Linked DNA regions of Homo sapiens: all the other regions are linked to region 5. Evidence: promoter capture Hi-C in human tissues and cell types (Jung and others, 2019). All regions are on one chromosome and are shown on one strand. Each heading gives the region's core, a stretch centred on a gene start or on the middle of the fragment in contact. The rest is flanking DNA. Distances are from core to core; before and after follow the strand shown.

The links. Contacts are between HindIII fragments. The study calls those that stand out against the background at their distance.
Region 1: a contact is called between a fragment that was not itself captured here and the fragment with the promoter of CERS4 in region 5, in 2 of the 25 tissues and cell types used here (heart right ventricle and spleen).
Region 2: a contact is called between a fragment that was not itself captured here and the fragment with the promoter of CERS4 in region 5, in 1 of the 25 tissues and cell types used here (H1 embryonic stem cells).
Region 3: a contact is called between a fragment that was not itself captured here and the fragment with the promoter of CERS4 in region 5, in 3 of the 25 tissues and cell types used here (H1 embryonic stem cells, mesenchymal stem cells and spleen).
Region 4: a contact is called between the fragment with the promoter of CTXN1 here and the fragment with the promoter of CERS4 in region 5, in 2 of the 25 tissues and cell types used here (lymphoblastoid cells and thymus).
Region 6: a contact is called between the fragment with the promoter of TIMM44 here and the fragment with the promoter of CERS4 in region 5, in 1 of the 25 tissues and cell types used here (dorsolateral prefrontal cortex).

The regions. Positions count from the first base shown.
Region 1 is chr19:8,478,009-8,482,222 of GRCh38, reverse strand. All of the region lies in intron 12 of HNRNPM (heterogeneous nuclear ribonucleoprotein M), which reads right to left. Among named protein-coding and RNA genes, the nearest start is that of PRAM1, 23 kb to the left of the region's middle. The HindIII fragment of the contact is 4,476 bases long and covers 669-4,214 here.
Region 2 is chr19:7,812,967-7,817,126 of GRCh38, reverse strand. All of the region lies in intron 1 of LOC124904628 (a long non-coding RNA gene), which reads right to left. It also overlaps the pseudogene EXOSC3P2. Among named protein-coding and RNA genes, the nearest start is that of EVI5L, 15 kb to the left of the region's middle. RefSeq lists an enhancer at 1,463-1,512. The HindIII fragment of the contact is 3,832 bases long and covers 610-4,160 here.
Region 3 is chr19:8,594,790-8,599,415 of GRCh38, reverse strand. It overlaps ADAMTS10 (ADAM metallopeptidase with thrombospondin type 1 motif 10), which reads left to right. Exons shown (of 26, transcript NM_030957.4): 7 at 2,099-2,182; 8 at 2,284-2,429; 9 at 2,831-2,874; 10 at 3,004-3,109; 11 at 3,197-3,343; 12 at 3,513-3,654. Among named protein-coding and RNA genes, the nearest start is that of ADAMTS10, 14 kb to the left of the region's middle. The HindIII fragment of the contact is 8,071 bases long and covers 1-4,626 here.
Region 4 is chr19:7,922,881-7,927,400 of GRCh38, reverse strand. CTXN1 (cortexin 1) reads left to right here and starts at 1,266. Exons shown (of 2, transcript NM_206833.4): 1 at 1,266-1,434; 2 at 1,843-2,910. The coding sequence starts at 1,863. The coding sequence ends at 2,111. It overlaps TIMM44 (translocase of inner mitochondrial membrane 44), which reads left to right. Exons shown (of 13, transcript NM_006351.4): 13 at 95-683. The coding sequence ends at 214. It overlaps LOC124904629 (a long non-coding RNA gene), which reads right to left and starts at 1,996. Exons shown (of 2, transcript XR_007067120.1): 1 at 1,565-1,996; 2 at 591-828. SNAPC2 (small nuclear RNA activating complex polypeptide 2) reads right to left here. Exons shown (of 5, transcript NM_003083.4): 5 at 4,151-4,520. RefSeq lists an enhancer at 1-585 and silencers at 1,082-1,351, 1,882-1,971. The HindIII fragment of the contact is 9,564 bases long and covers 1-4,520 here.
Region 5 is chr19:8,207,746-8,212,339 of GRCh38, reverse strand. It overlaps CERS4 (ceramide synthase 4), which reads right to left and starts at 2,970. Exons shown (of 12, transcript NM_024552.3): 1 at 2,846-2,970; 2 at 1,478-1,634. RefSeq lists a silencer at 2,370-3,289. The HindIII fragment of the contact is 7,028 bases long and covers 474-4,594 here.
Region 6 is chr19:7,940,927-7,945,537 of GRCh38, reverse strand. TIMM44 (translocase of inner mitochondrial membrane 44) reads left to right here and starts at 1,872. Exons shown (of 13, transcript NM_006351.4): 1 at 1,872-1,931; 2 at 4,341-4,436. The coding sequence starts at 1,887. RefSeq lists enhancers at 678-1,220, 1,221-1,764, 1,769-2,138, 1,765-2,307, 2,308-2,851 and a silencer at 1,669-1,738. The HindIII fragment of the contact is 7,251 bases long and covers 1-2,876 here.

The sequences.
Region 1 (4,214 bases), core at 1,657-4,156, 270 kb before region 5:
CACTTTGGGAGGCCAAGGCGGGTGGATCACCTGAGGTCAGGATCAGCCTGGCCAACATGGTGAAACCCCGTCTCTACTAAAAATTAGCCGGGTATGATGGCAGGTGCCTGTAATCCCAGTTACTCAGGAGGCTGAGGCGGGAGAATCGCTTGAACCCTGGAGGCAGAGGTTGCAGTGAGCCGAGATCGTGCCACTGCACCCCAGCCTGGGCAAGAGTGAGACTCTGTCTCTAAGAAAAAAAAAAAAAAAAAAAAAGACACCAAACAACAACAACAACAAAAGCACCTGCACCCCACACAGCTGCTTCTTATATCCCAACTAACTGCTGTGGGACAAGGTGGGAAAGTTCACCAAGAGACACAGACTTCAGTCTACCAGCAGGTACAGCTCATTCTCCCGGGACGCCTGCGATCCTGCCCGGCATGCCTGAGCCGAGGCTGGCTTTCCAGCACCTAGACCAAGCTTGTCCAACACGTCTTACTTTGCTTTGTTCTGTTTTAGGCTTTTTGGCAGCCTGAAACCATGGTTTTTAAGTTTCTGTCTCTAGTAATAAGTGGAAAAGAGGGATAAGGGGCTTTACTGACCCAAACAGAAACCAACTGAGAACCCATGACTATATTCTCCCGTGCACACCCCTGAACTAGATCAAGCTTCCAACTAACACACCTGCAAGACAGCTGCAAAAGCTTTCAACCAACATGCCACTGATTTGCAGAGAATGGCGGAATTCTCCCATCGGCATTCACAGGCCTCCCCACAGACCACAACTGGAGCCTGTTCTGCCCATGCTCCTCCCCTGCCTCACAGAGACCTGCACCCACCGCCGCCAGCCGCTCTATCTGCGCACACCTGCTGCCTGTGCCAAGCCTGCTGAGCCCCCTAGCAGAGCCAATGCCCTGAGCAGCATCTGGCAACCAACGTCTCCACCAGCGTCCTCACTAGGCCACTTGGATGCACAGACCTCTGGCGATGTCCCAAGCCACCCTTAGTATCGCCTCAGCTACACCTCATCCTTGAAGGCCAAAGACCACAGGCCTATCCAAATTTTTGAAGCAGCAAGTACAGCTGTTTGCACAAAGGAGTGCAAAGATCTACTGCCTAGGCACAGGAAGGGGCACCGAGTAGGAAAGCACTATGGAAAGGAGCACCACAATGGTTCACCTCTCATGGCAAAGGACACGGGAAAGAGGTCAAGAATTGAATCTTGAAAAACCAACCCAACCACTCTGAGAACCTGACGAGATCACCTTACTCATGTAGGTCTGATCACAGCGGCAGGAGGGAATTCCGGGACAGAGATCGCACAGTCCCAATCAGAAAGAAGGTGTAACCGCAGCGGGAGAGGTGGCGCCCTGCCGGTCAGGACAGGAACAGTTTCCTGTGGCCACATGAAGTGACCTCAAAGGCAAGAAGCCCACATCCACCTCTCTGTGCCACTCATGTGCCACTCCAAAAAGCGGAATTAGGCGAGAGGTGCTGCAGAGTGGCAAGAAGCTGAAGGCTCTTAGCAAGAAAAAGTTCCTACAGAAGTAAAGATGCCTTTTTTTTTTTTTTAATTTTGAGACAGAGTCTCACTCTGTCGCCCAGGCTAGAGTGCAGTGGTGTCATCTCGGCTCACTGCAACCTCTACCTCCCAGGTTCAAGCAATTCTGCCTCAGCCACCTGAATAGCTGGGATTACAGCATGCACCACCACGCCCGGCTAAATTTTTTGTGTTTGTAGTAGAGACGGGGTTTCACCATGTTGGCCAGGCTGGTCTCAAACTCCTAACCTTGTAATCCACCTGCCCAGCCACATGCCATCTATTCTTGCCATAGCTATCCACAAATTAGTATTTGCAGGCAAATGACAGTAAGTTTTAATTTTTTTTTTTTTTTTTGAGATGGAGTCTCACTCTGTCACCCAGGCTGGAGTGCAGTGGTTTGACCTCGGCTCACTGCAACCTCCGCCTCCCAAGTAGCTGGGATTACAGGCACCCGCCACCATGCCCGGCTAATTTTTGTATTTTTAGTAGAGACGGGGTTTCACCACATTGGCCAGGCTGGTCTTGAACTCCTAACCTCGTGATTCACCAGCCTCGGCCTCCCAAAGTGCTGGGAATACAGGCATGAGCCACCGCGCCCGGCCAGTAAGTTTTAAAATATTTCTTTGGCCGGGTGCGGTGGCTCATGCCTGTAATCCCAGCACTTTGGGAGGCCGAGGCGTGTGAATCACGAGGTCCCGAGTTCAAGACCAGCCTGGCCAAGATGGTGAAACCCCATCTCTACAAAAATACAAAAAATTAGCCGGACATGGGGGCACGCGCCTGTAATCCCAGCTACTCTGGAGGCTGAGGCAGAGAACAGCTTAAACCTGGAGGGGCAGAGCTTTCAGTGAGCCAAGATTGTGCCACTGCACTCCAGCCTGGGCAATAGAGCGAGACTCTGTCGCAAAAAAAAAAAAAAAAAAAATTTTTTTTTTTTTTTTTAAATACACCGCTGGCCAGGCATAGTGGCTGTTGCCTATAACCCCAGCACCTTGGGAGGCCAAGGCGGGAGGATCACTTGAGCCCAGGAATTTGTAATAAGCCTGGGCAACATACACTCTGTCTCTACAAAAAAATAAATTAGCTGGGCATGGTGGCATGTGCCTGTGTTCCTAGCCACTCAGAGGCAAAGGTAGGAGGATTGCTTCAGCCTGCTACAGTGAGATCATACCCACTGTACTCCAGCCCAGATGACAGGGAGAGACTGTATTAAAAAAGAATCTTGCCCCTCTGATGAGCTGAAGGATGAATCTAATGACCACCTTTCTAGGGCCTTCATAAATTTGAAGAATACAGCTAACATAAAATGGACATCAACAGACCTGGCGTGATGGCTCACACCTGTAATCCTAGCACTTTGGGAGGCAGAGGCAGGTGGATCACTTGAGGTCAGGACTCAAGACCAGCCTGGCCAACACAGTGAAACCCTATCTCATTAAAAATACAAGAAAATTAGCTGGGTGTGGTGGCGGCAGTGCCAGCTACTCAAGAGTCTGAAGCAGGAGAACCACTTGAAACCGGGAGGTGGAGGCCGCAGTGAGCTGAGATCGCACCATTGCACTCCAGCCTGGGCAACAAAGCGAGACTCTGTCTTGAAAAAAAAAAAAAAAAAAAAAAAAGAAAGAAAGAAAAAAGAGGAGGAAATTGCTCTGCCACCTAACCAAAACTGAAAAAATAATTTCTCTGCATACGGATAGGCCTAAATACTCAAGACCTTCCAACTTTAGAAAACCTCTCTAGTCGGTCTAGATGCCTCTGTCAAAGGCATCAGCAAGTGCACAACTCACTCCATCCTGCTAACTGGACTGGACACCACAGCACCCTGGGGTAAGGAAACTCCTGCCCCAATTAGCAGGGCTTTGAAACACGCTCCAGGCCTAGGGAGCCAGAGGGCCATGAAACACTCTCCAGGCCTAGGGGGCCAGAAAGTCAAGTACACGCAGCAGTTTCCATTCCCACAGCCTGCACAACCTTATGCCAATTTTTTAAAAAGCCATCTGAAAAGACTTAAAGACAAATAATGCTACTGATATAGCAATAAAACACTAAAAGACCTAAATTTTTTACCTAGGTCTAAAACAACATCTTTTTTAAAAGCTTAAAAAAAACCAGCTGACTCTAAGAGAGCAGGGACATCAGGTAAACCCTGGCAGCCTGCACCCCAGAGGGCGGACCCCAGCCACTGAGGCCCACTGGGCCTTCTTACTCATTCCTCTGCCAAGAGGCTCTCCAAAGCTTCGAGATATCCCCATCTCCTTCCTGGCAAAGTCTCTTTCAAGTCCTCCACCCATGCCACGCTCCATCTCTGTGGAAAAATCACCCTAGGCCTTTCCAGGAATACCACTGTGTCTGAGACATCAAAAACAAAACAAAATGTATACACACGACAGCCACCACCAAGTCAGCATGTTTAACTCTTCTGCAGGAAACCATTATTCATTCTTCATTCCCTAAAAAACAAAGTCACTGCAACTGAATCCCTGAACAACCTACCTAACATAAGTCCATCAAGGACCAATGAACAACTTCCATTACAGCCACACAAACCACAATACTGGGTACACCAAGCATTCGCTACCACAGTAACCAAGAGGTCCCCTGCAGTGCAGCTAAATCAAACGTAGGCTGCAGAAGGTAACACCTACTAGGCACTCAACACATGCCCTACCCCAAAGGCTTTGTGTATAAT
Region 2 (4,160 bases), core at 1,276-3,775, 390 kb after region 5:
CCATGGCCATTTAGTTTCTACAACCAGTTTGGACTTTCACTCTTGGCTGATTGGAACTTGGTTGGTTTCTCACTTAGTTCCTGCCTTGGCTCCTTCCTCTGACTTTGCTACCCAGTGTAACCTCACTGGCTCCAGCTCTGGAGAAACTTGAAAGACAGTCCAGCTGTGACTGTCTTTCCTTCTTGCCTTCCCAGTAGCAGGAGTGAATTTGGATAGTAAAGACTTGTAAATGACAGGGACATTTTGAGGGCAGGCAGAAGAGGAGCCCATGAAGGAGATGGAGAAGGAGCGGTCAGGCAGACAGGAGGAGAACCAGGAGGTGAGGCCATCAGGGAAGTCTTGGGAGAGAGGAGTTTCAAGGAGGAGGGAGGGAGTGGCCACCCCATTAATGAGTGGAAACAAGATAGAAACAAGTCTGGTTGGCTTTCACAAAGGAACGGTAGTTACTCTCCTTGGTCATTTCAGGAAAGTGGTGGCAGGTGGGGCAGCCATCAGAGGGTTAGAGGGAGCAGATGAAGGCAGAAGTGACAACCCTTTTTCTTTTTCTTTCTTTCTTTCTTTTTTTTTTTTTAAAGAGTAATGATGTGATTTTTTTTAAACTTTAAGTTCAGGGGTATATGTGTGGGATGTGCAGATTTGTTATACAGGTGAACATATGACATGTACAGATTATTAGTTACTTTTCCTGATCCTCTCCCTCCTCACTCTCCACCCTGCAATAGGCCCCAGTGTGTGTTGTTCCCCGTTATGTGTCCATGTGTTCTCATCATTTAACTCCCACTTATAAGTGAGAACATGCGGTATTTGGTTTTCTGTTCCTGCATCAGTTTGCTAAGGATAATGGCCTCCAGCTTTATCCATGTCCCTGCAAAGGACATGATCTTGTTCTTTTTTATGGCTGCATAGTACTCCATTGTATATATGTACCACATTTTCTTTATCCAGTCTATCATTGATGGGTTGATTCCATGTCTTTGCTAGACAGCCCTTTTTCTTTTATTTCTTTCCTTTTGTAGAGACCGAGGTCTCACTTTGTCACCCAGGCTGGAGTGCAGTGGTGTGATCATAGCTCACTGCAGCCTCAAACTCTTGGGCTCAAGTGATCCTCCCACCTCAGCCTCCCAAGTAGCTGGGACTACAGCCACCACTCCCAGCGTTGTATATGGGTTCAGAAGATGGAGGAAGTGTGTGAGCCCAAGGGGCCAGGCAACCCTGGTGAGGCTGCCCCACCCCTTCTGTGGGATGTTGACAGTGAAACAGAAAAGCACCTCACTGAGGGCTACCACCACTCCATAAAAAAACTTTCACCCACCCTCCAATCGGATCACCCAATTGGATCACATGGGATCCAATTTTTCCAGTTCACTAAGGCAAGAACCCTGGGAGAGAGAAAGTCGTCTGTCCTTGCAATAAGGCAGAGCATCTAACTGAGCTGATGAACATCAGCCAATTGCGGACGGCAAAACTGAAAGAGCACGCTGTAACACATTCCCACGGGGCCCTCATGAGCTGTAAAGCATTCACCCCTAGACGCTGCCATGGGGTTGGAGCCCCACAACCTGCCTGTCTGCATGCTTCCCCTGGAGGTTTGAGCAGCGGGGCACAGAAGATGTGAGCCACACCCCCCGTCACACGCCCTGCAAGGGGGACAAGGGAACCTTTTCTGTTTCACTACCAACATCCCACGGAAGGGGTGGGGCAGCCTCACCAGGGTTGCCTGGCCCCTTGGGCTCGCACACTTCCTCCATCTTCTCCTCTCTACTCCCTTCTCTCTCCATCCCCTCTCTGGACTGTGGGTTTTTATAACCCCATGCATTGCAGCCCCTCAGAATCACATCTCTCCAAGCCAGGAAGAAGAATAAGGAACAGGATGGAGACACACCCTTCCTGAAAAGTGGGGTGAGAGATGAAGCACCTGACACAGAGGAGAGTCATTTAGAGGGCAGGCAGAAACTATCCAGTAAATTCCAGTGCCAAAAGACTCTATCTGAACCCATATACAACGCTGACACCTTGAGCCTCACTTTTTGGGAGTCTCAGTTTCCTCAGCTGTGAAATGAGACAACTACACTGCCTCACACTGTTATTGTGAGTTTTATTTATTTTTTATTATTTGTTTATTTATTGAGATGGAGTCTCGCTCTGTCTCCCAGGCTGGAGTGCAGTGGTGTGATCTCAGCTCACGGCAACATCTGCCTCTCGGGTTCAAGTGATTCTCCTGCCTCAGCCTCCAGAGTAGCTGGGATTAAAGGCACGCACCACTATGCCTGGCTAATTCTTGTATTTTTAGTAGAGACGGGGTCTCACCATGTTGACCAGGATGGCCTTGAACTCCTGACCTCAGGTGGGTCCACCTGTTTTGGCCTCCCACAGTGCTGGGATTACAGGTGTGAGCCACCATGCCTGGCCATGTTACTATGAGTTTTAATACAGTGCACTAGTAATAGGTATAAATTGCCTATTTGAATGATGGATACTCAGTAATTACAGCACTTAAGATTTATCACGCTGGGCCCGGTGGCTCATGCCTGTAATCCCAGCACTTTGGGAGGCTGAGGTGGGCAGACCACTTGAAGTCAGGAGTTCGAGACCAGACTGGCCAAAATGGTGAAACCCTGTCTCTACTAAAAAACACAAGAACGAGGACTGGGAAAGCTGAGACACCGCCGGGTTGGAAGTGCTGCAGCCCCGGGAATGAGTATGTTCGAGTGAAAGGAGACCATGTGATTGGCATAGTGACAGCTAAATCTGGAGATACATTCAGAGCTGATGTTGGAGGGAGTGAGCCAGCTTCTTTGTTTTACTTGGCGTTTGAAGGTGCAACTAAAAGAAACAGACCATATGTGTAGGTTGGAGATCTCATCTATGGCCACTTTGTGGTTGCTAATAAAGACATGGAACTAGAGATGGTGTGTATTGACAGCTGAGGACGAGCCAATGGAATGGGTGTCATTGGACAGGATGGTCTGCTTTTTTTTTTTTTTTTTTTTGAGATGAAGTTTTGCTCTTGTTGCCCAGGCTGGAGTGCAATGGTGTGATCTTGGCTCACCGCAACCTCCGCCTCCCAGATTCAAGCAATTATCTTGCCTCAGCCTCCTGAGTAACTGGGATTACAGGCATGCGCCACTGCACCCAGCTAATTTTGTATTTTTAGTAGAGACGGGGTTTCTCCATGTTGGTCAGGCTGGTCTCGAACTCCCGACCTCAGATGATCTGCGTGCCTCTGCCTCCCAAAGTGCTGGGATTACAGGCGTGAGCCACCGTGCCTGGCCCTGATGGTCTGCTTTTTAAAGTGACTTTGGGCTTAGTTAGAAAGCTATTAACTCCAGGTTGTGGAATCATACAGGAAGTGGGAAAACTTTATTCCCTGGAGATAGTATTTGGAATGAATGGAAGAATATGGGTCAAAACAAAAACCATCCATCAAACTTTAATTTTGGCAAACATTTTGGAAGCTTGTGAACACATGATGTCAGATCAAAGAAAACAAATCTTCTCCAGACTGGCAGAAAGTTGATACAGGTGGATTTTTTTTTTTTTTTTTTTTTTTTTTTTTGAGACAGAGTTTTGCTCTTGTCGCCCAGGCTGAAGTGCAATGGTTTGATCTCGGCTCACTGCAACCTCTGCCTCCGGGTTCAAGCAATTCTCCTGTCTCTGCCTCCTGAGTAGCTGGGATTACAGGTGTGTGCCACCATGCCTGGCTAAATGTTGCATTTTTAGTAGAAATGGGGTTTCACCATGTTGGCCAGGCTGGTCTTGAACTCCTGACCTCAGGTGATCCACCTGCCTTGGCCTTCCAAAGTGTTGGGATTACAGGCATGAGCCACTGAGCCCCGCCTAGGTGGACTTTTTTTTTTTTTTTTTTTTTTTTTTTTTTTGAGACAGTCTTGCTCTGCCACCAGGCTGGAGTGCAGTGGCATGATTTTGGCTCACTACAATCTCCACTTCCTGGGTTCAAGCGATTCTTCTGCCTCAGCCTCCTGATTAGCTGGGGCTACAGGTTTATGCCACCACGCCCAGCTAATTTTTGTATTTTTAGTAGAGACGGGGTTTCACCATGTTGGCCAGGATGGTCTTAATCTCTTGACCTCGTGATCTGCCCGCCTTGGCCTCCCAAAGTGCTGGGATTACAGGTGTGAGCCACCGCACCTGGCTCTAGG
Region 3 (4,626 bases), core at 1,991-4,490, 390 kb before region 5:
GAGGTTGCAGTGAGCCAAGATCGCACCATTGCACTCCAGCCTGGGCAACAAGAGGGAAATTCCATCTCAAAATAGATAGATAGATGATAGATAGGTAGCTCACAGGTACTCGTTGAGGTTAGCAGTACACACACAGGCACACATCCGTATTCACGCAGCATTCTTGCACAAGCACCTACTTATAAATTCCTACAGGCTGACCTCCCCAACCCACCTTCAGATATAGTCCATTTCCATCCTAGATCTCAGGCGAGATTCTTGACCTCTCTAAGCCTCAGCGTACCAGTGTATCAAATGGAGATATAATGGTAGCTACCCTAGAGAGTAAGGATTGGTGGAAGGGAAGCCAGGTAGGCTATTTGGCACATAGTAAGGGCTTGATGAATGGTGCTCTTGTTTCACTGAAGCAAAAGGGAAAACAAAAAGTTTAGCAGACAGGCAGAGGGTCCAAAATGTTGTGTAGTGTCGTCTCTGATGGCCCTCAGTTGTGCCTGAGCCTGGCCTCTCTCCCTAGGGCTTTCAGAATTTCCTGGGGGTTTCCAGCCCGGTGCAGTGGCTCACGCCTGTAATCCCAACACTTTGGGAGGCCGAGGCGGGTGGATCACCTGAGGTCGGGAGTTCGAAACAAGCCTGGCCAACATGGTGAAATCCTGTCCCTACTAAAAATACAAAAATCAGCTGGGCGTGGTGGCGGGCACCTGTAGTCCCAGCTACTCCGGAGGCTGAGGCTGGAGAATCGCTTGAACCCGGGAGGTGGAGGTGAGTGAGCCAAGATTGCGCCACTGCACTCCAGCCTGGGTAACAGAGTGAGACTCCATCTCCAAAAAAAAAAAAAAAAAAAAAAAAAAAATTCTGGGGATTTCCAGACGGGGAAATGATTACCCAGGGTTCCAAGATCCCTGCACAGCCTGGCCTCTGTCTTCTGTGCCAGCTCATCCCTGGGGCTGCTTCCTCCTTTCCTCTGACCACTGTCTCCAGAGCCTCCTGCCCTCACAGTTTTACTTTCCTGTGGTGATGGGCAAATTGGTACCTTCAGACAGCTGTGGAATGAACTCAGACATGTATATCCCTCAGGTCGCCTCTGGACAAAGATGCTTGAGGCAGTCAGGGGGGTAAGCAGGGGTTGGGGGACAAGTAGATAAGCTGAGCTTGGAGGAGTCTGAAAGAAATGTTCTGGTAAGCAATCCAGACTTGAGTCTCACTTCTGACACCTACCAGCTGTGTCCTAACCTCTGTTTGCATGTCTCCTCATCTGTAAATTGGGGATGATAATAGCACCTGTTGATGAAAAGACTGATGCATGGCCAGGCATGGTGGCTCACACCTGTGATCCCAGCACTGTGCCAGGCCAGGACAGGAGGATCGCTTGAGGTCAGGAGTTCAAGACCAGCCTGGCCAACATGGTGAAACCCAGTCTCTACTAAACATACAAAAATTAGGCGGGCATGGCTGGGCACGGTGGCTCACGCCTGTAATCCCAGCTACTCGGGAGGCTGAGGCAGGAGAATCGCTTGAACCCAGGAGGCGGAGGTTGCAGTGAGCTGAGATCACACCATTGTACTCCACCCTAGACAAAAAGAGCAAAACTCTGTCTCAAAAAAAAAAAAATTAAGTGGGCATAGTGATGTGCGCCTATAGTCTCAGCTACTTGGGAGGCTGAAGCAGTAGAATCATTTGAACCTGGGAAGTGGAGGTTACAGTGAGCTGAGATTGCACCGCAGCACTGCAGCCTGGGCAACAGAGCGAGACTCCATCTCAAAAAACAACAACAACAAATAGTAACAACAGCAAATATTACCTATTCATGAAAAGACTGATACATGGCTGGGCATGGTGGCTCACACCTGTAATCCCAGCCCTATGGGAGGCCAGGCAGGAGGATCACTTGAGGTCAGGAGTTCAAGACCAGCCTGAGCAACATACCAAGACCCCCATCTTTAACAACAACAGCAACAAAAAACCCTAATAGCAGGTTTAGCCTAAGACCCGACACACAGTAGGTGCCTGATGAAAGCAAGCTGTTATCATTGTTTTTGCTTTTCATTTTCTACCCTGGGCTCCTCTTAAGACTCGGTCTCTCTTGTTTCTTGGAGGTCAGGTTGCCAAACTTTTCCAGGACTCGAGTCTGGGAAGCACCGTTAACATCCTCGTAACTCGCCTCATCCTGCTCACGGAGGACCAGGTGCGGGGGACTTCCTCCCCTTCCCCTTCCCCTTCATACCAGCATGTCCTGCCGTCCCCTGGGTGGTGGGTGCCCATGCATTTCCCTCTGTCCATCCCCAGCCCACTCTGGAGATCACCCACCATGCCGGGAAGTCCCTGGACAGCTTCTGTAAGTGGCAGAAATCCATCGTGAACCACAGCGGCCATGGCAATGCCATTCCAGAGAACGGTGTGGCTAACCATGACACAGCAGTGCTCATCACACGGTGAGGGGACAGGAGAGGTCTAGGACTGGGGCTGAGAAAACAGATGGTCCAGGGAACCATGAGAGTCCAAACAGAGATCACTTCTGCTAGGGTCAGGAGGAGCAGAGAAGTTTGGGCTGCCCATGAGGGAGCCAGGGATGGGGAGGGGCTGCTTGAGAATAATGGGTAAGGGAGGTTTGGGACCATTTGGGCACCGATGCCCTCATTCACTTATTCTCCCACTCATGCATGCATGCATGCATTCATTCATTCATGTGGTCAGTCACTCCTGTATGCAGCTTCAGGTGAGAGGCAGATGGCGCCTCCAAGGCAGGACTCAACCCCCAGAGCTGGGCATGGTGGCATCAGCAGGGCTTAGGGAGACAGCCCAGCCCCCTCACTGACCCTGTCTCCTTTTACAGCTATGACATCTGCATCTACAAGAACAAACCCTGCGGCACACTAGGTACCCGAGCCCCGTAGGTTTCAGGCGCCTATGAAGGCAGTGGGCTGGGGTGAGACCTGGCAGGTGGATGGGGCCAGCCAGCACCGTCCTGAGCCTCCCAGCCCCATCCCCACATGTCCGTCTTCCCAGGCCTGGCCCCGGTGGGCGGAATGTGTGAGCGCGAGAGAAGCTGCAGCGTCAATGAGGACATTGGCCTGGCCACAGCGTTCACCATTGCCCACGAGATCGGGCACACGTGAGGCCAGGGCACACAAGAGGGGGAGGAGGGGAGGAGCTGGGCGGGTCCCTCAGCGCCCGGCAGAGCCGACACCCCTTTCCCCAGATTCGGCATGAACCATGACGGCGTGGGAAACAGCTGTGGGGCCCGTGGTCAGGACCCAGCCAAGCTCATGGCTGCCCACATTACCATGAAGACCAACCCATTCGTGTGGTCATCCTGCAGCCGTGACTACATCACCAGCTTTCTAGAGTGAGGATGCACCTGGGTGTCCCTCAGAGCGGGTCACACTCATGGTGGGGCAGGGTACACGGGAGACGATAGAAATCAGGGATGCTCCCTGGGACCCCCATCCAGCTGAGGCTCCTGAGCTCTTGATTTGCAGCCACCTAGCATGACAGTTGCTTTTCTCTCGAGGCAGCTCGGGCCTGGGGCTCTGCCTGAACAACCGGCCCCCCAGACAGGACTTTGTGTACCCGACAGTGGCACCGGGCCAAGCCTACGATGCAGATGAGCAATGCCGCTTTCAGCATGGAGTCAAATCGCGTCAGTGTAAATACGGGGTAGAGAGAGTCTTCCTGCTTTCCTTCCTGGGAGGGGAGGGGGCCGCTGGGGCTGGGGGAGGGAACTCCACCAGGGCACCCACCTGGGAAGTGAGGGGGTGGGAGAACCGGGAAGGGGGGTGAGGTGAGCCCCCATGGTGACCTGGGAGGACAGAGGTGCATGGAGTGTGCAAAATGTCCTAAGCAATCAGACAGTGCTTGGGAACAAAAATGGGATCACCTGCTTCTCCAGACCCCTGATTTGAGGGCTGGGCTGGGGGGCCAGCTTCTGTCTGGCACATCACACCCCCTGTGGGCTACAGCAGGATCAAAGTCTCAAGACCTCTCACGGGGCAGTTTTTAACTAAACATCCAGTCCTGACGGAAATAATTTCCCTGGGGATGAGCCATCTTTCCTACTTGGCAAAGAACTAGACAGAACCTTCCAGGGACTCCCTGTCTGGAGGAGCTCTGAGCCTCCTGACCTCTCCCCACCCTTTCCTGAGGTTTAGATTCCCAAAGCCCCATTCGTGCATAGAGAAGGGCATTGGGGGGCAGGAGGTTCCACTCCCAGCTCCCCCCAGGAAGCTGAAGACCTGCTGGCTTCCTGCTTCAGCCACCAAGGTTCAGCCAGGATCTGCTCCTCCTCTGCCCACCTGCCTCGATTCCCTAAATGCACCCCTAAGCTCCTCACAGTCTCAGCCCTAGGGGCCCAGGTTCAGCCCCAGTTCTTCACACTATCACAACTCAAACGATCAGAGTTTTTGTGATGCCATGTTAATGCAAAGCAGAGGGCAAGCAGCTGCCAAATTGCCCTCCCTTCATTCCACTGCAAGACAGAGACAAACCCTGGAACAATTTCTATTTCACTGACATTCCACCCTTGACACCCCCCAACATCCTAACTTAGCTGGTAACTGCAGCACCCTCTAAGGAATTCCTAAAGAATTCTGAAGCTACTCCTCAACATCTGCTGTGACCCAGGTATCCTAA
Region 4 (4,520 bases), core at 17-2,516, 280 kb after region 5:
CGGTGGCTCCTGCCCCACAGAGCCTGGCCCCCCCCCAGAGCTGCCTGGGTCACCTCAACCCTCTCAACAGTGCCCTTCCCACCCCACCCTGCAGGACAAGGTGCTGCGGATGCTGTACGTGTGGGCGCTCTGCCGAGACCAGGACGAGCTCAACCCCTACGCGGCCTGGCGGCTCCTGGACATCTCGGCCTCCAGCACCGAGCAGATTCTCTGAGTGTGGTGCCGGAGCCAGGTAGCCCCGGCCTGGGTCATCAGGCACAGAGGCACCGCAACACCACCTGCGGCAACTCCAGACCTCTGGGAACAAGACTGCGGGCTCTGCCCCCAGCTCTGCCAGGACGGCTGCAAGACCAGCTGGCCCGGGAGGGGACAACGGGCTGTTGCGGGTGCGCGGCAGCTGGAGACACTCCCCCGCAGGGCCAACCCCTGCCCTGTTGCTCTGCCCTGCAGGGGTCCCGGCGCCTGGTCACCTGGGGTGCACACAGGTCACACAGTGCCAAGAGGCCCCAGGGCCCAGGGACTCCCCCCACAGCAGGGTGGGACCCGGGACCCGCGGCTCAGTGGCCCGCTAGCCACGTCAGCCAAGCCACTTTAGGTCCATTTTTTAATTTTAACAGTGCTCTTCCATCTTGTGCATAAGCCTGAGATTTGGAAAGAATAAAACACCGAATTGCAGAAGAGCAGCTACGGAGTCTGAAGTGTCTTCTCTGGCGCGGGAGTGGCCGAGGCGATGGTGGGGGTGGGAGCAGGCGGCTGCTGTGGGAGGCGGTCAAGGTCGAGTGAGGAACTGCAGCCGCAGTGGGTGGACGCCTTGCCCAGGGCTGGACCCTGAGTTGGAAGACGAGGCCAGTGACAGACAAAACTAGGGGGACTTACTCATCCCAGTGACCTGCCTGAGCTCTCTGAGAATTGAGGTCCCCAGGGCCGGGGGAGCTTGAGTGCCCATATGAGTGTTTTAGGGCCACTGAGGTCCCCCCACAAACAGGGAGTCTCGAGTGGGGTCTATCGCGGAGGAGAATGCAGGCACAGGGCAGGCTGGGGGGCCCGAAGTGCCAGGGGAGGTGGGAGTGGCAGCTGCCCACTCCCCGGCGAGGTCGTGGGTGCTCGCGGGTCCTCGGGGCTGGGGTTCCGTCCTCCCGCAGGCCCGGGCGGGGTCGCTGGCTCGCGCGCCGCTCCCTGCGCAGCCTCCGCCCCCTGCAGCCCCGCCCCCCGCGGCGGCCCCGCCCCCGTCGCCATAGGAACAGCCGCGGCGGCCCGGCTCGCGCGCTGCTTGCCTGCCTCGGTCTCCGCCGCTCCAGGGGCGGGTGGGGTGGGCTGAGCCGGAGCCCGGGCCGCCGCCGCCGCCGCCGGGGAGAGGCCGAACGCGCAGCCGGCGCGGGTCCCTGAGAGAGCGCGGCCGCCGGGCGGTCGGTCCCCGTCCGGGTCGAAGCCAGGGTGAGGGGCGCGCCGGGGCGGGGGCGGTGGGGGAGGGGGTCCCAGGCCGCCGAGAACAAAGGGAGCGGGGGCAGGGGCCGCGGGGACCGTCCCCACGCCGCGCGCCCGGGCCGCGGCCGCGCTTTCGCACCTGTTGTGTGCGGCCCAGGCCGGGCGCGGCTCCGTTTCCCGGCTCTCAGCGCCCCCACCTGCGCGCACGGCCAGAGTTGGGTCCCCGCGTGGTGGTGGCGGCGATCCGGCGGGCCGGGCATGGGCGTAGCCCGGGGACCGAGGCGCGGGCGGGGGATGGGGTCGGGCACGTTAAGGGAGGCGGCGGCGGCGGCGGCAGGAGGGGGCGAAGCGGAGGAGGCGCGGGAGGGAGGGCGCAGCCTCATCCCCGGCGCCCGGGGCGGGTCCCCTCCTCCGCAGGGCGCGCGGCGATGTGAGCCATGAGCGCGACGTGGACGCTGTCGCCGGAGCCCCTGCCGCCGTCGACGGGGCCCCCGGTGGGCGCGGGCCTGGACGCGGAGCAGCGCACGGTGTTCGCCTTCGTGCTCTGCCTGCTCGTGGTGCTGGTGCTGTTGATGGTGCGCTGCGTGCGCATCCTGCTCGACCCCTACAGCCGCATGCCCGCCTCGTCCTGGACCGACCACAAGGAGGCGCTCGAGCGCGGGCAGTTCGACTACGCGTTGGTGTGAGGGGCGCGGCGCCCCCTAGCCGGCCCTGCGCCGGGGTCTCAGAGGGCCGGCCCGGCGGGGGGCGCCGCGGGGCCAGGACTGCGCTCAGGATCCCGCCCCGGAGCCCCCAGCCCGGGGGAGAGGGGGAGGGAGTTGGGAGAAGCCCAGCCCCTCCCCCTCGAGACCCCTCCCATGTCCCTTCCTGGCCTGGCCGGAGCCCCACCTCGTGCCTTTATCCGCCCTGTCCCTTCCTCTCTGCGCATCTCACCCGCCCGGCTGGCCCCCACCCCCGACTCTGAATCCCGGGCGGGAGGAGGACCCCCGCACCGCCCCCTCCCCAGCGTGTAAGTGGCTCTGCTATTGTGCGTCCCTGGAAGTGGGGACCCCCTTGTCCCTCCTCCCTCCCCTGTTGTCTGGCCGTCGTCAACCCCACCTTGACTGAGTGTTGAGCCCGTCCTTGGGCTCTGGTCCCTGCGGGGCAGGCTCTCCCGGGCCCACGGGGCGGACGCTGCATACCAATTTGCCCTGCACCGCCTGTCCCGGAGACGGAGCCCGAAGGCCTGCCATGGCGGCTGTGTCGAGGATGCGTGGCGCCTGCCGTGGCGGGACAGCGTGGGCAGGCTCATTTCTGCCCCCAACCCGGGCCCCAGGACAGGTCAGCGCGCCCTGCCCCGGTGCCCACCGCTGCCCCCCATCCGCCCTCCTGCCACTTGCCCCTGACCCCCCTGCCGTGCCTCCCGCAGCCCTCCCATGCCGTTCCACTCCTCCCTGCCTCTGAGCCGAACATGATAATAAAAGCTATTATTGAGCGCTTACTGCATGCCAAGTAGCGTGCTGAGTTGGCACCTCCTGTTTATAGCCTGTCTCCTCTTCGGGATCGTGAGAATGAGCCAGGCCCTGTTAGCATCCCTATTCTACAGGCCAGGAGACCGAGGGCCAGGCAGCTCCAGTGACTGACTTGCCCACAGTCACATGGCTAGAGTCTGGTAGGGCTGGAAGTGGAACCCAGGTCTGGCTTTTGCATGTTTTTAAAGCTTCCCAGGGCTGCAAAGACACCAAGATCACAAGCACCTTTCACCGGCTTTGGGGGGGGGGGCTGATGTGTAACCCCCAGCTGCCTCCCCTCCACACACAATTCTGTTGATCTGGGGAGGCGCCGGGGGTGGTGAGAGAGACTCAGCCCTGTGGGGAACTGGGAGGCGCACCCTCTGCCAGCCCTGGAGGGAGGCTCCGACGACCGACCGTACCTGCAGCCTAAGCCTCCTCCCCCTGCCCACCACCATTGGCAGCGTTTGTGGGTCTGGTGCGGTGGGGCGGTGACCACGGACGGAGTGGGCTGGCTGTGCTCCAAGGCCCTCCCAAGAGATGTGCACCCCAGGGGAGCCGTGTGCAGTGTGTGGGGGGAGGAATGAGCGTTTCTATAAAAGGCAGGCTGGGTGAATGCACAGGCTCCGAGAACGGAGAATTTACCGACTTGGATTACTAGCTGGGCGTGGGACGCGGTGCCGTGGGAGGACATCTGCTTCCCTCTCTAGGACCCGACCCTCGGTCCACACCCACAGGGCAGGTGAAGCTGATGGAGGGGGCCTCAAGCGGGGTCCCAGCACCCCCAGGGGTTTGGGGTCAGCCCTGACTCCAGTACCCCTCCCTCCCCGCCTTCTAGGGATCCTTGAGGTCCCAAAGCCACCCCAGGGGACACTCCACTCCCACTAGCCTCCTGCCACTCGGGGCAGCCCACCCCTATCTATCTTCCTCTAACCGCCCAGCCTGGGGCTCAACTCCTTCCACCGGGTCACCCCCACTCTCTGCTGCCTTCTCCCCTCCACCTGTGCGATGTGATTTTGCCCTACTCTGAAACCCATCCCTGACGCCTGTCCCCAAGGTGCCCTGCCGGCTCTCCCCATCCACACTTGTCAGCTTCACAGTCACCAAGGGGCTCCTCACCCCAGGCCTCATCACACCAGTCAGGTGGCAGCTCTCCTCCCTGGCACACACCCCCAGCCCTGTGACCCCCAAGCTCTGACACTTCAGGGCCCCCACTTCCATCTTTAAGTCACAGGTGAAAGAGAAAGAGAATGATAACTTTATTCATGGTCACAGAATACCCCCGGGAAGGGGAAGGACCTGGCAGCAGGGAGTAACCACGACTGGTCAGTTGAAGAAGGTGAGGATGCTGGCCCCGAGGTGTACAGGAAGGGGGAAAATGTGCGAGGGCCTTTACGGTGGGCAGTGCCAGCTATGGCCCCCCAGCAGACAACAAGGCACAGTGGGGCTTGGGGACTGGGGGAGGCCAGCCCTGTCCGCCTGTCCTTGACATCAGGAGGCTTGTGAGTGGAGTCCTGCAACCCCCACCCAACCCCTGTACAACGGGGGTTCCATTTCTGAGACCCCCAAAGTATGGGGCATCTTAGAGGCCCGCCCCACAGCTGA
Region 5 (4,594 bases), core at 1,721-4,220:
TCTCCAAGATCCACCCAAGTCTCACCCGTCCACGCCTTCACCTGGTCCAGCCCCACCATTACTCCCCTGGCCTGGTGCAGTCCCTTCCATCCTGGTCTCCAGGCTCCTGCCTTCGACCCCTGCAGTCTGTTCCCTGAGCTCTAAATAATGCCAAATGCTTGTTCAAGGCTGGCAGGCTGGCTCTGCCCTTCTTCCTCTCCCCTCTTCTGGATCTTACAACCCTGGCTTTGTGGTTGTTTCATCCAAGCACCCTGGCAGTTTCTCTCCTCTGCAATTTGCCCACTGGTCTCTTGGCCTGGTTAACTCCTCCTTACCCTTAGCGACCCAGCCAACTGTCACCTCCTCCAGGAGGCCTTCCCTGACTCCTCCTTAGGCTGAGTCAGGTGACTCCTCTGGACTCCCCCTGACCCCAGGCATGACTCTGAATTTTTTTTTTTTTTTTTTTTTTTGGAGATAGTCTCACTTTGTTGCCCAGGCTGGAGTGCAGTGGCGCGATCTCGGCTCACTGCAAATTCTGCCTCCCAGGTTCAAGAGATTCTCCTGCCTCAGTCTCCCATGCAGCTGAGATTACAGGTACATGCCACCACGCCCGGCTAATTTTTGTATTTCTAGTAGAGATGGGGTTTCACCATGTTGGCCAGGCTGCTCTCGAACTCCTGACCTTAGGTGATCTGCCTGCCTCAGCTTCCCAAAGTGCTGGGATTACAGGCGTGAGCCACCACGCCCAGCCCCTCCGTGATATTTTAATAGCCTCCAGCTCTGTGATATTCTCGTGATATTTTAATAGCCTGTTTAGCACGTATTCACAACCAGCCAGGCACTGTGTTCAGCTCTTTACCTATAGGTCATGACTGCTATTATCCCATTTTACAGGTGGAGAAACTGAAGCAGGAAGTGGTGAAGTCAGTAGCCCGGAGGCCCTCAACTCAAAGTGGCAGGACAGGGCTGGGGGGTGGTCAGGCTCAAGCCCAGCCAGTCGGAAAGGGAGAAGCTTGTGGTGCTCAGAGAAGGGGACAGGGCAGCGAGCTCCCAAGGCACCTGCCTTTCTGTGCCATCCCACGGGTGGGAGGAGGGAACCTGGGCCCACTTCTGCTGCCAACTACAGGCATCCCAGTGGCTCCTGAGCCAAGACATTCTGTGCCACGCACTGGGTCAACCGCTTTATTCAACCTGCAGACAGCCCTGGGTCAGGAGGTGGACACTGTTGTGAATTTCTCAGAGGAGAAATGGAAGCCCATACATCCCCCTGAACTCCCACCGGGCGTTAGAACCCTCTCCGGTTCCTTAGGGGTGTGGCTGCCACCGAGATCTGCCTAGCCTCGGCTTTCATCGATCCATGAACACTCCCAGGCTCAGATACTACTGACCCATTTTACAGATGGGTAAACTGAAGCTCAGAAACCTTTCCCTGGGGGCCCTACAGCCAGTTCAACGACCAAGGCCGCCCCCCACCCCCCACACCCCAGGCTCAAAGTACCTCTGCTGGCAGTGGGTGAGCTGGAAAAACAGGTAAGGAAAGTCCTCAATGCCTCTTCCTCCACGCCTGGCTGGGCCTGCTGGGGCCCAGGTGCACTGAATGAGGCTTCTAATCAGTCCCCCAGCTCCACTTCTGTGTTTATTCACAGCAGCTGCTCCTGGAAGGCAGACCCATTTGAGGCTGGGGGAGGCCGAGGGCTTCAAAGACAATTCCACAGTCCAGGAACCCTATCCCCATATAACAGACCCAGGTCGCCCCAGTGGGGTCACCCTGGCCTCTGCGCTCAGATGCCTGAGACCTTGCCTGAGCTCAGACTGGAGTCGATGGGAGCATTCCCCCATCTGGTAGGTTTTGCAAACCACAACAGCCTCTCCCCCTGCCCACCTTCCTGTGTCCCCCAGAGCAGCTTCTCCTCAAGTCTCCCAACCCAGCAATGAAAGCCTCTTCTATATACTCCTAACTACCCAGGAGAAACATCGGTCCCCCACGCTCCACTTGCAAACAGACAGAATTAGACGATGTTACTCTGCCAAAGCGAATTTTCAGTTCACCCACTTCCTATCACACCTTCCAGCCAGGTCAAGCCAGAAGCCCCCTTCCAAGTATCCCCATCTCTCCTACCCACAGCGGCTACGGGATGTTCTTAAGACACAATCCGATCACGCCATGCACCTGCTGTTCCAAGCCTCCCTGGTCCCCACCGCCCCGAGAACGGGTTCCACACTCTCCTCGCCGCTTCCCAGGCCCCGGCCAACCTCTCTCCACCTCAGACCCTCCCTCTCCGCGTTTCAGCCAGGCTGGCCTCTTTTCTGCTCCGCACACACTCCCGGCTAGGCCCTGGGCCTAAAAAGCCCTCGCTGGCTGGTCCAACCAGGCCAAATGACATTATCCCCGCCTGGGCACCTCCACCTCACCCCGGCCGCCTGATGGGTTAGCTCGGGCTTGGAATGACGTGTTTAAGCGGTTCTCAGAAGCCGTCTACGCGGCCGGGCTGCGGACTCCGAGGCCAGGGCCCCAGCTGCGTCCCCAGCCCTGGCACGTCGGGGAAACGGGGCGCTCCCCCGGCTCACACATCCGGATTCCCCCGCGTCACGAGGCCAGGATCGCCCCTACTCGCTCCAGCCCGTTTCACAGCCGCGTCCTCGGGCACCCGTTGCGCCCCGGCCCTCGTGGGGGAGCGCGGATAGCTCGGGGAGACGGCCATGATGGGAAGCCCCGAGGGGGACAGTCCCCGGCGGGGTGATGGGGGCTGGAGCCCAGCTGCGAGTGGGGGCCGGGCTGGGGCCGCCATGGCCGCGGAGGCGGGGCCGGGGACCGCCGTGAGGGTGGCGTTCGGGGCGGTGTTCGCGGCGCGGGGTGCTCGCTTACCTGGGGGTGCAGGCGGCCGGGCGCACCGAGGGCCGGCGGCGGGGCTGGGGACGGCGCGCCTAGCGGGCTACCCGGAGCAGCTGCAGACACGCGCCGCCCGCCCCAGGCAGCCGGACTCTGCTCCTGGCCGGGCCTCGGCCCCCAGCAGGGGAAAAAAGGCTTGAGTGGGGGGAGCCCGGGGCGGGGCCGTGGGGGCGGGGCCTGGGCGGGGCACGCGCCCCGGAACGGTGGGGCCTGGCGCGGGGCTGGGGCCCTGGAGAGGCGGGGCCTGGCGCGGGGCGGGGGACTTGGAGGGGCAGGGCCTGGAGCGGGCGCCGGGTCCTCCAGGCGCTTGCCCCCCTCGACGCAACTAGGCCTCTCCCTGGCCCCCGACCCCGCACCCGCACCCCATCCCCGCCCCCGTCCCCGCCCCCCCATTCTCGCCCCCGCCCCCGTTCCCGCTCCGCCCATCTCTGCCCCGCGGCGCGCCTGGCCCGGGTCCAGCCTAGCGTTTCTAGTCTGCGCCTTATCTCTCCCCTTTGAACCCAGTATTGTCCGCTGCGCGCTCCGTCCGGCCCCGGCTTCACCCCTGTTCGCTGTCTGTCTCCCCGGCCCCCTCCCAGGTCCCCTCTTCTGCCCGAGATGCTCTGGCTCTGCTCATCTGTCCACACCCCCACACTCCCGGGGCGCCCTGAGCCTCTGGGGCGCGCAGTTGGATGGTGCACAGGGGAGGCCCAGATTTCTCCAGGCCTCAGCGGCCACCCTGGGTACCCCGAGTCTGGGGCCCTGTTGGAGGGCCAGTCCAGGGGTTCGCCCGAGGCGCGCGCGGGGGCCAACCGAGGCGGTGAGGGCACCGGGCAAAGGCTGCGATTTGGTGGGGTGCAGGGGTCAGGCGACAGAGCTGGGGAGATAAGATGGGAGATAGGCCGGGTGGGTGGTGGCGCAGCCCTGGTTTTGGCTGAGGGCAGCAGCAGTGGGGGCTGGGTCCCCCGCTTGCCTGGTAGAACCGAAAATGACCCAGTCTCAGCAGCGCGCAGGGGCAGGGAGCCTGGGCGATCCCTGAACAGAGGACAGCCCCAGGGGTTTTCATAGTCGCTGGCCCACCGCATGTACTCTGGGCAAGTGGCTTCGCCTTTGGACAATAAGCCTCTGTAAAATGGGGATAATAAACCTTTCTCTGACTCAGCTCAGCAGACCCAAGACCCATGGGGTGAAGTTGGGGCCTCCCTGCCACAGGGCCCTAGGCAAGCTGAGATTTGATTTCCTCACACAGACAGGGGCGCGGGGGGCGGGGCGGTCAGGGAGGCAGGAGACCTCTGTTGCAAGTGTGGAAGAACCTGTCCCTCCAAGTTCAGACTCCTGGCGTTTGCACTTGGCCTTCCCTCTGCTACACTGTTTCTCTTTTCTTTTTTCTTTTTCTTTTTTTTTTTTTGAGACGGAGTCTTGCATTGTGGCCCGGGCTGGACTGCAATGGCATGATCTCGGCTCACTGCAACTTCTGCATCCTGGTTTCATTCGATTCTCCTGCCTCAGCCTCCCGAGTAGCTAGGATTACAGGCGCCCACAACACCCGGCTAATTTATATATATATATATTTTTTTTTTTGGAGAGACGGGGGTTTCACAATGTTGGCCAGACTGATCTCAAACTCCTGACCTCGTGATCCACCAGCCTTGGCTTCCCAAAGTGCTGGGATTACAGGCGTGAGCCAGCATGCCCGACCTTCTCTTTTCTTTTTTTAAAAAAATCTGTTAGAGGCTGGGTGCGGTG
Region 6 (4,611 bases), core at 623-3,122, 270 kb after region 5:
GGCGAGAGACACCATGCTTGGCTTATTTTTTTATTTTTGTAGAGATAGGGTCTCGTTATGTTGCCCAGACTGGTCTGTAACTCCTGGGCTCAAATGATGCTCCTGCCTCAGGCTCCTGAGTTGCTGGGATAATAGGACTGAGCCACGGATCCTGGCTTAAAGGAGTCTTCTATCTCCACTTTATCTTTGGGTCTTTGACATGCTTATATGACACACTGCCTCTGAGTGTCCAATGCTGTAGTTTTCTTTCTTTCCTTTCTCTCTCTCTCTTTCTTTCTTCTTCTTTTTTTTTGACACAAGGTCTCTCTCTGTTGCCCAGGTAGTGTAGTGTAGTGTAGTGTAGTGTAGTGGCACGATCACGGCTCACTACAGCCTTAACTTCCCGGGCCTCAACGATCCTCCCATCTCAGCCTCCTGAGTAGCTGGGACTACAAGCACATGCTACCACGCCAAGCTAATGTTTTGTATTTGTTGTAAAGAAGAGGTCTTCACTATGTTGCCCAGGCTGGTCTCAAACTCTTGGGCTGGAGAGATCCTCCCGCCTCAGTGTCCCAAAGTGCTGGGATTATAGGCATGAGCCACCGCGCCCGGCCAAACTCCGTACTTTCAACCACAACTAAGAATCCATATTTCTAGCCCAGACCTTATTCTTAGCAACACACCTGTGTACACCAACCGCTTAACTAGTTTGCTCCTCTTGGCATCAAGACATCTCGAACAAAGCCAGAGTGGAAGCCCTCATCTCTTACCCCCACCTTGAGGGGGAGCTCCTGAGATGGAGAACACAAGTCTATCCATCGCAGAAGCCAGGAATGCATGCTCTCCGGGGCCAAGCTGCCTCCCTTTGAAATAATGAAGTCCCATAAACCCATATCACAGGTTAGTAATGCAAAAAGACCGGGTGCGGTAGCTCACGCCTGTAATCCCAGTGACTCAGAGGCTGAGGCAGGAGGATCGCTTGAGCTTGGGAATTGGAGGCTGCAGTGAGCTAGATTACGACACTGCACTCTAGCCTGGGTGACAGAGCAAGCCTCTGGCTCTATAAAAAAAAAAAAGGATCCAATAAGACAAACAGCAACAGCAACATACATTAGCTCTCCCAGGGGACCAACCCTCCTCCTCATACCCGGATTGCATGGCCATGTTAAAATACCGCCACCTGGTGGCGGCATTCTTCGAATGGAAAATAGCATCTGGGGTGCTGAAATGACAAAGGCCTGAGCGTCTTCAGATCAGAGTGTCAGTTCACACTGAATCGAAGTAGGACTGGACCACAGTCAGCCCGCTCTCAGCTTCCTCTTCTTATTCGGGGTCAAAACCAACAGGCGTCTTCCCAAAGCGCCGCACAAGAGTGGGCTCCTTCGCTTTCTCGGAGCGACTCACTTGCTGGTCTCTCAGCCATTGTCAATCAATCAGTCATTGCAGGGGCAGCCATAGACAATTACTCTGGAGCTGGTCCGCCGGTCAATCAGAATCCAATCGAATCCGTCCTTGTGGTCGGTGGATCCACGTGCCTGTACCACCTGCCACCAGCGCCCGGCGCGTTCTGTAGCCGAATCACCGCAAGTGACGGAATACACGCCCCTGGGCTCCGCCCCCTCGTAGTCGCGCCCAATCACAGATCTGACCCTCCCAGGAGTGCCCTCCCCCGGGCCACATCCAGTCACGGGCCCCGTCCTTCCAAAACACTGCCCTATCAGAGGTCAAGCTCTCTAGGCATTCCCTACCCTTTTAATGCCCCGCCCTATGACGGACCCAATCGGAGGGCTCTCCCTACCCGAAACCCCGCTCCTGGAGCGGCTTTTCTCAGGCTTGCGCGGCTCTAGGCCGAAGCGGCGGATGACGCAACCGGGCCGCGCCGCGAGAAGGTCACACGATTCTCCAACATGGCGGCGGCGGCCCTGCGGAGTGGCTGGTGCCGCTGTCCACGGGTGAGCGGCGGTGCGGCGCTGGCAGGGCGAGCTTAGGGGTCTTCTGGGCCTTCGGCCACCAAGGCTTTCTTCTCAGACCCTTGGCCTTCGCGACCCTTGCTTGGGCTCCTTAGAAAGCTTGGGGTTAGATCTTTGGGTAGCAGAGGCCAGGACAGGGGGCACAGAGCGTGGCCTGAGGGCGGGGACCGAGCTTACCGGGCAGGGGGCGGCGATGCGCGGGACCTGGGAGGGAGCTGATCACCCTTCGCCCTCTGATCAGACTCCACGTATACAGGAGAGAGAATGGTAGCCGGGGCGGCGGCGTCCCGTGGAAAAAAGTAGAGGGGAAGGCAAAAAAACGTGAAATTCACAGCTCGCGGTTAAATGCCAAGTTCTCTACCGAGAGCATTTCTTGTCTCGTTTCTTCTAACGTTCATTGTGGATGTGCGAGAGGTGGTTCGCGCCCTAGCAGGCTCTTGGGTCCACAGGGCAGTGGCAGTCAAGACGTGTAAGGCGCACTCAGAAAGTAGTACTTCATATTGCTCGTGCTCTTCGTTTTTTCTTTTTTCTCTTTTTTTTTTTTTTTTGAGACAGAGTTTCGCTCTTGTCGCCCAGTCTGGAGTGCAATGGCGCGATCTCGGCTCACTGCAACTTCTGCCTCCTTCTGCCTCCGGGTTCAAGCGATTCTCCTGCCTCAGCCTCAGGTGGATCACCTGAGGTCAGGAGTTCGAGATCCACTGGCCCACATGGTGAAATCCCATCTCTACTAAAACCCCATCTGTACTAAAAATACAAAAAAATTAGCCGGGCATGGTGGCGCGCTCCTGTAATCCCAACTACTTGGGAGGCTGAGGCAGGAGAATCACTTGAACCCGGCAGGCGGAGATTGCAGTGAGCCGAGATCCTGCCACTTTACTCCAGCCTGGGCAACAGAGGGAGACTCCGTCTCAAAAAAAAAAAAAAAAGTTATCCTCAAGTAAATACAGGAGATAGTAGGCACCTGTGTAAGTTTGGGATGTTGCATAGGGTTCTCAGAGGTAGGAGGCAGAGAACAGAGAGAAAAACGGCCCAGGAAATGTGGAAATGGTGGAGAAGTTGTACCTGGTCTTTTGACATCAACACGCCAGGTTCTGTGCTGGGTGACAGGGTGCCGAGCTGAACAGGACCTGCACAGAGCTTTTTTTTTTTCCCCCAATTTTTTATGGAGGCAGGGTCTAGCTATGTTGCCCAGGCTGGTCTCAAACTCCTGAGCTCAAACGATCCTTCCGCCTCAGCCTCCCAAAGTATCGGGATTACAGGCATGAGCCACCAGCTCAGTGCCTGCACAGAACTTAAGGCAAGATCTCGGCTCACTGCACCCTCCACCTCCCGGGTTTAAGCAATACTACAGGTGTGTGGGACTACAGGTGTGTGCCACCACGCCCGGCTAATTTTTGTATTTTTGGTAGAGACGGGATTTCACCATGTTGGCCAGGCTGATCTCGAACTCCTGACCGGGTGATCCTCCCACCTCAGCCTCCCAACGTGTTGGGATTACTGGCGTGAGCCACCGCGCCCAGCCAGCAAGTGCCTTTTACATGAGATCAGCCCAGTCTTTGCCCAGAGCGACTCCCCTAAATTACTCTGTTTATAGCTCAACCCTTGAGGAGGACATTGTAGGTTTATTCCAGAGTTGTCCCTGGGGCAACACATTATCGATGTTTGTGTCTGAAAAATCCAGTTCTCTCATCTTTGGAGGCTGGCAGAAATGGGGTGGGCTCGCAAGAGAAGACTGCTTGCCACTAGCATAGAAGCTTAGAGTGCCTACTTTCAGACTAAGGGATTAAATTGTACATTTAGCCTTCTTCCCCCCATGGGTTGGCATTTCCTGGGACCTGTCCGTTTTCCCCCAGTTTCAGGGGCACGAGGATAGATGTAGGCCCTGGAGGTACAGACACAGCATTTTCTCTTTCCACCAGCTTCTGCTTGCTTCTCAGACTTTGGGAAGATTACAGAGTGCCCGGCATGCATCAGGCATAAGATACAAATTGGCCAGTGAGGCCAGGTGCAGTGGCTCATGCCTGTAATCCCAGCACTTTGGAAAACCGGGGGAGGGGTGGATCACCTGAGGTCAGGAGTTCGAGACCAGCCTGGCCAACATGGCAAAACCGCTTCTCTCCTAAAAATACAAATATTAGCCGGATGTGATGGCGCATACCTGTAATTCCAGCTACTCGGGAGACTGAGGCAGGAGAATCGCTTGAACCCAGGAGGCATAGGTTGCAGGGAGCTGAGATCGCAGCACTGCACTCTAGCCTGAGACTCCGTCTCAAAAAAAAAAAAAAAATGGCCAGTGAGTTGCAGGTGACCCTGCTGTTTTGTGTGTGGTCTGCTTACTTCTCAGTCAACCTCTTGTTAGAATGGATCTTTCTCTTCTCTCCCCCCAATTAGAGATGCCTCGGCAGTGGAATCCAATTTCTTTCCAGCCACAACCTACCCCATGGGTCGACCTATCAGATGCGCCGGCCGGGCGGAGAGCTGCCACTGGTGAGTGACTCAGGATGCTCGGGCCAGCAGACACAGGGGAGGCCCGAAAATTCAGATCCCATTGGCAGGAGGGAGGGGTGGGGCTGTAGAGGTGGCTCGTACCATCTCGGTGGTGGGCCTTCTGTGTCCGGGGCTTTCAGAATGACAGATCCCAGTGTGCCTGGCCTTCTCGGTC